2 separate regions of the Homo sapiens genome follow, and region 1 is linked to region 2. Evidence: promoter capture Hi-C in 16 types of primary human blood cells and fetal thymus (Javierre and others, 2016). All regions are on one chromosome and are shown on one strand. The core of a region is centred on a gene start or on the middle of the fragment in contact, and the rest is flanking DNA. Distances in the headings are between cores, read along the strand shown.

Region 1 (3,090 bases), core at 26-2,525, 540 kb before region 2:
AAGGCTGGGCCGTTTGCATAGCTTCAGTGACAGATTTGGCTGAAGGCAGCCTAATCCTCTTTACCTTTAGTTGATAGCAAAAAAGCAAATAACAAGGGAATGTGGGGAAGTATATCTAAATAGCTTGTTTACTCATGTGGTCCTAAGACCAACCTTTGATCAACCGCGGGTACATAATTGCTCTCTACTCAGGGGATCGGCAATGTTAATTACCGTCTAATGGTGTTTACTCAAAACCTTTGCCATTTAATCTGTACTAAATAAATGCAAACTTTGCCAGCTTATGAAGCAATGCTCCAGACTCAGAGCAGAGCCCCTTAGCTGGACTGACAGGCAAAATATCTCTGTCAGTGTATGTCTTGATCTGTTGCTAGGTCAGCGTCTGTGGGTTGGACCCCCACAACAGGGTAATGTAGAAGCCAGCCAGGAGGAAATGTGGCTATTTGGTAACTGCTTAGAATGAGATGATTGGTTATATCATTTATGTTTTATGCTGTTGTATTATTTCTTGAATATTTTAACCACAATTTAAAGTTCTCTGTAACTTGTTTACTCCCAGTTGTAGACTGTAAGTTAATGTTACATGCATTTTAATTTCCTAACTACCCCTCTAAAGTATTTTCAAGATTAAGAAAGCTAACTTCTTAATAGCAACTTAACTGTAAGGATTGTCTTACCATCAGAGAAGAGATGCTCTCTTTCAACAAAGAGCTGTAAAAGCTTCCCCAGCTCATACTGGGTCTTACACTGCTGTAGCATAAGCTTCAAAAGGAAACACACCTGATCCTCCAGCCACATGGCAGGGATGACAGGGTGGACCTTTGTGGCTGCTGTGTTAAGCTATGAAAGAAAAAGAGAAGCTTAGGGAAAGCAGTTTCATGAGAATAGCAAATCAAAACCTCCAAATCTGGGAACCTCTAAGAAAGCTAAAATTCCCTCAAAAGCCATCGCCTGTCATGAGGCACTTACTCAGTTCCTTTCCAAATGGCAGGAACTGGTAATGGGGCTCAGAGGACTGGCAAAAACAAGCCCTCCTCAGCAGCTTTGCACATTGTCTCTTTGTGGAAAGTTCTGGTATAGAGCTGCATGTGTGAAAAAGATGGGCAAGAGTCCTAAAGACTGAATGCTAACTACAGAGTTAATGTAAAATATTCCTACTTAGTGACTGTCAAATTAATAGCCCTTTGAGTCACTGTAAAATTAACCAGATGTTTCACTTAGCAGCTTCTTTATTTTTATTTTATTTTTTGAGACGCAGTCTCACTCTGTTGCCTAGGCTGGAGTACAGTGGTGCAATCTTGGCTCACTGTAACCTCTGCCTCCCGGCTTCAAGTGATTTCTCCTGCCTCAGCCTCCTGAGTAGCTGGGATTACAGGCACACGCCACCACGCCTGGCTAATTTTTTTGTATTTTTAATAGAGATGGGGTTTCACCATGTTGGTCAGACTGGTCTCGAACTCCTGACCTGATGATCCGCCTGCCTTGGCCTCCCAAAGTGCTGGGATTACAGGCGTAAGCCACCGTGCCTGGCCTAGCAACTTCTTTAAAGAGGGATGTAGGCCTGCCCTTGAATCCAGAGGATTTTAAATTCACATTATAAAAACCGCTTAGAAAGACGTGCCTAACATTACTTCGCTAGTTCTACCACTTTGCTTGTAGTTTATTCTTGTTAGAGAACGGTCTCAGTTAAGAAGCTTGGATTTACATCATTTCAACTGAATGCTAAAAATATTAATAGGAAGATGAATTCAAGTGGCAGGCTGCATTTCTACAAGTAGGTGTGGCAAAAATATCTTCTAGGATGCTGCAGGAAAAGGCTGATTTCAGAGGAGTGGTGCTTTCTTACCTGCTGCTGCTGTTTTTTTTTCTTTCCTTTGTGTTGGTAAAGAACAGGGTCTTCACTATGTTGCCCAGGCTGGTCGAACTCCTGGCCTCAAGCCATTCTCCCACCTCTGCCTCCCTGAGTGCTGGGATTACAGCTATGATGATAGCGCCCAACAGATGCTTCTTTTGTGACTTCATTCCTGATTTTTACTTTGGTTCTTGCTTCGTATTATTTTTGGAAGACTAATATTTGGTTCTCAGTCACTATAGTCTCGTAGTTCACTCTAGACTTCATACAACATAATCACAAAAAATACTGGGCGTTTTGGTGGAATAGAAACTTAACTGCCGGGTTTCAAAACACGTATATGTTAATAGGCACCAAAAACTTATAATTCAGTACCTCTGTGCCTAGTGCTGAGTTAGGCCCTAGTCTTGGCTGAATACTTCCTGTATACTTCTGAACACACCATAAAAGTCATTCTGAAGGTAAGTTTAACATGCAGGGCTTTTTGGCTGTGACGTAGGTTTTAGAAGACAATATTCCCTTCAATGGAATTCTCAAGACTGCCAAGATCTTAAATTAAGGAATGGTTTATAAAATCATGTGTCACATTACTGCTATCTTCTTACCTCTATTTGGAATGAATTTCCTTCTCTACTGTCTTTCCTATGCCCTATGTGGTCCTCCCTGTCCATTTCTCATCCTCTTCTCTTAAATTCCAATAGGACTTACCTACTCTAAGTAAAAAGATCATTTTGCTTTTGCAGCATCTCCCTTAATGCAAAGTTGTTTAAGGGAATTATTATGAGAAAGAACACTGGTAGTCAGCTCACTAAATTGCTACTATTCCTGCTTAGACACTGTTCCTGAATGTTTTCTATAACCATTCTGACTGGATTTTGATGTTTAGAAGAACAAAAGTTATATAATACTTCTATTCTTTTTTAAAAAATATTTCTCTTCTTGATTCTTTATCCTCCTGAGTGTCCTTGTTAAAATTAGCTGGGATTAGGGCATTAGTGCTTAGTCTTTATTTAATTACTTGTATACCTAACTCTGTTGCTCTAAGAAGAGGAACAAATGTGAACAGATGATGGAACTGGTTAAGCTGGTCAGGCAAGAATAAGAAGATACCTGGGAGGTAGCCAACTGGCCATAGGGAGTAATAGGCTAAGGAAATTAATGTGCCTATTTTCTGTGGTTTTAGAATCCTAGGCATATTCAAATAACTGATTTGGTATTTTCAAATATATAACTTTCAA
Region 2 (3,146 bases), core at 383-2,882:
GCCTTCTTCATTCAAAGTTATGTGCTAACGTCTTGTGGCCTCTCTTGTAGCCTGACAGGACTTTTTTCCTGAAGTCTTCCCCCTTGCCCACCTCCCCCATCTGCTGGAAACTATAGAGTAAGGGCCACTAATTCTCCACAAGTGGGGAGTGGGTGACATGGCTGGAGTTGCCAAGACCTCTGATTGGTAATGCACAGCTACTGCAATGTGATGCTTTTTTCTCTGATTGGGGTAGACCCCATTAAACGTTTACAGCTGTGGCTAGCTAAGGGGACCCTGTCAGGAACTCCTGTGCTAGACTTTCCTCTTCAAGGAAGGGGTCTGTGTGTACGTGTGTATCTGTGTATGAATGTATATGTGTGTTGTTGCACAAAAATAGGAGTTAAGTGGAGAAATTGAACAAGATCTGAAAAGTGGATTGGAGGCAGGATTCCCCAGTAAGGGCTGATGTGGATAAGGAATTCAAGGGTGCAGAATCATGCAAGCCAAAGTATCCAGACTCGAGTTAAACTGGGATGGCGATTCGATGTCTATAAACCTTGTGGCATTTATGGCCTTAAGAGGTTTTCCTTGCCTCCCCAGTTTCTTACCAAACTCTCTCTTTGAAGAACTCCCACTTGATCCGAACTTGGTCTGGATGAAAGCAGGAAGTGCAGCCCTAGGTGCCAGGGCGGGAGCAAGCACTTCAAGACCCCCTCCAAAATCACCTGGACCGCACAGATCTAAGCAGCCGCATCCCCCACCACCCACACCCGGACCACTATTCCCTACCTTCCCCTCTTCCAAACAGTGCGTGTGTGGCAGCCTGCGCCTCTCGCCTTCCCCCGTGGAACCTCACACGAAGCGCCCCCGGGGGTGTGATTAAAGAGGGAACCAGGTCCCGACGTTCTGTGAACAAACGCGCGCCCTTACTCTCAGTGGGGCTCCCGTCCGACCCCCACTCCTCTCCTAACTCACGTAAGGACCCGGCTGTGACCGGACAAACCGGGTCTGGGGTGCTTCCAGTCACTCTTCAAGTCACTCCCAAACTTCTCAGACTGCACCCGAGGCTCTGCGGCGCCGCCTCCCTCTCCCGGCCTGGTACAGAGAAGGGCTGGGTGCGCCAGGACAGTAGTACCGGGGTCTGCCAGCTCCGCAGAGGTCCCTCCAATCCCCCCTCCTCCTCTGCGCCCCCCCACCCATGCCCAGCAATCCCAGCAGCTCCAGCGCAAACCTAGCGACGCAGTTCCGGGTCTGGCGGGGCGCGGGCGCGGCTCGCAGGGCGGTGGGACCCCCAAGACCTCACGAGGATCCCCGGAGGGAGACGTGACTCCGGGGTCTTAGAGGGGTTTAGGTCGGATGGGTGACTTGCTTTGACGCCTGGCCTGGTCTGTGGGTGGCAGGTGATCGATGGCCTTGGACTTGGAGCCCAGACCCGACGGTGTCGAGAGGATCTGAGGAGAGTCTCCCCTCCCCATACCCTCTCCGCCTCCCACCCTCTCCCCAGCCCCATGGGACTTGTGAAGGCGGACTTGCTTTTTTCGCCGTCCACACAACCGCACTAGCCGGGCCTTCGGCACCGACGGAACATCTCTACCTGCGCCCCGGGAGCCCTCGCCGTCTCACCTCGCGCGCTGCCGTCCGCTGGAAGCACCTCCGCGCCTCCCCAGGCGCCAGACTCCATCCCGCCCCACTGCGCCCCGCCCCGTGGCTGAGCCGAGCCGGGCCGTGCCTTCCCCTCCTCACCCCCAGCCCCGCCCGTCCCGGCGCAGAGCTGCAGAGGCACCGGACGAGAGAGGGCTCCGCGGGCCCAGCTGGCAGCCAGGCCGGAGACAAGTTGCAGTCCCGGGCTCTGGTGACGCCGTGGCCGCAGGTCAGATTTGGGAGGGCTTTTCCCGGCCCGCGGGCCTGGGCGCTCCGGGGGAGGGAGCTCCAAGGGCAGGGTGGCGGGGGAGCCGCAGCTCCTCCACGTTATGGAAGAAAGGGGAATGCTAGCCCCCTGCGCCTCCGATCTTATCCTAAGGCTAAAACCGGTCCTGTTAGGGCCTGTCCTCTGCCCAATCAAGGTTTTGAGAGACTGGGTTCTTTGGGACCTGGGAATGTTGGGTGGCCTAGTTTGCCTGGGCCTGCGGGTTCTTCTCCTGGCACCAGCACAACATACCAGGGAGGGAGCTTTGGGCTTTAGGATCCAAGCTTTCCCCCTCAGCCCTCCCTTAGGACCAAGATGGCCTTGACCCATCTTCCTCCCACCTCAGGGCCACCAGGGTCACCACTCTAGGGCTTCAGGCTGGAAAAGCAGCCATGTGGGGCAAGAACAGGCAGGCCTGTGTTCTCTCTCTGGTTCTGCCGCTGGCTCTGCCTGGGGCTTCACTGCCCTGTCCTGGGCAACCTTCCTGTCAAGGTTGTTGAGAAGTTACTGCCCCATCGTTGTGTAAATCATTAAGGGCAACCCACCCACAAGGAGTGGTTATTAAGCATGTCCACCTTCCTCTTCAGGTCATCCCCACACAGCCTGGTCTGAAAGCCCATTTCATGCCCTTAGGGGCTGAGTGGTACATTAGCGTTGAGGCCCAGGATCCTGAAGACATGGTGGTGGCGGGGGAGGGGAATGACATCTTGGGATCAGGGAAGGACCGCTGTGGCTACTTCCGTATATCCAGCTTTACAGCTTCAACCATCCAGAGCCCAGCTCTTCATGCACTATTAAAGGCCAGCACCTGGACAGACTCTGTGAAATGCAGCAGGTGATACTGAGCTTTCCAGTTATGGCAGGGCCTAGGTTTTTTCATTTAATAGGAGATGGAGTAGGGATGAGGTCACTCCCTGGGTTCTCTCCTCTAGACAACCCATCCAGGAACCCTGATGTTTGGCTGGGGATGAGGCTTTCCCTGAGCTCCTTTCTTCCTCTATCCTAACCCCAATCTCCAGGTTGCCTTCAGGAGGTCTTCGCCGGCTTTAGGTACTCCTTACTCGCACTCAGGAGTCCCAGCCTGAGTCCTCTGCTGCCTCTGTTTCCCTGTTGACTCTGGGTGGAGAGAGAGAGAGCAGGAAGCTTGCACTAAATACATGAGCACCTGGTAGTGCATCCCTTCTGGATCCAACCAGAGGAGACAAGCTCCCGCCTACCCTCTCTATATCACATTTGCCCAACACCTGTCACTTGCTTT

What was found. The method cuts DNA at HindIII sites, captures the fragments that hold promoters and counts their contacts. A CHiCAGO score of 5 or more calls a contact.
Region 1: a fragment that was not itself captured here is called in contact with the fragment with the promoter of DUOXA1 in region 2 in 2 of 17 cell types (naive B cells and erythroblasts); the score reaches 6.5 in naive B cells.

What each region holds. Positions count from the first base shown.
Region 1 is chr15:44,588,575-44,591,664 of GRCh38, forward strand. It overlaps SPG11 (SPG11 vesicle trafficking associated, spatacsin), which reads right to left. Exons shown (of 40, transcript NM_025137.4): 28 at 678-840. Among named protein-coding and RNA genes, the nearest start is that of EIF3J, 53 kb to the left of the region's middle. The HindIII fragment of the contact is 834 bases long and covers 859-1,692 here.
Region 2 is chr15:45,128,247-45,131,392 of GRCh38, forward strand. DUOXA1 (dual oxidase maturation factor 1) reads right to left here and starts at 1,633. Exons shown (of 9, transcript NM_001276266.2): 1 at 1,606-1,633; 2 at 1,214-1,369; 3 at 772-888. It overlaps DUOX1 (dual oxidase 1), which reads left to right and starts at 1,748. Exons shown (of 34, transcript NM_175940.3): 1 at 1,748-1,852. The HindIII fragment of the contact is 6,225 bases long and covers 1-2,170 here.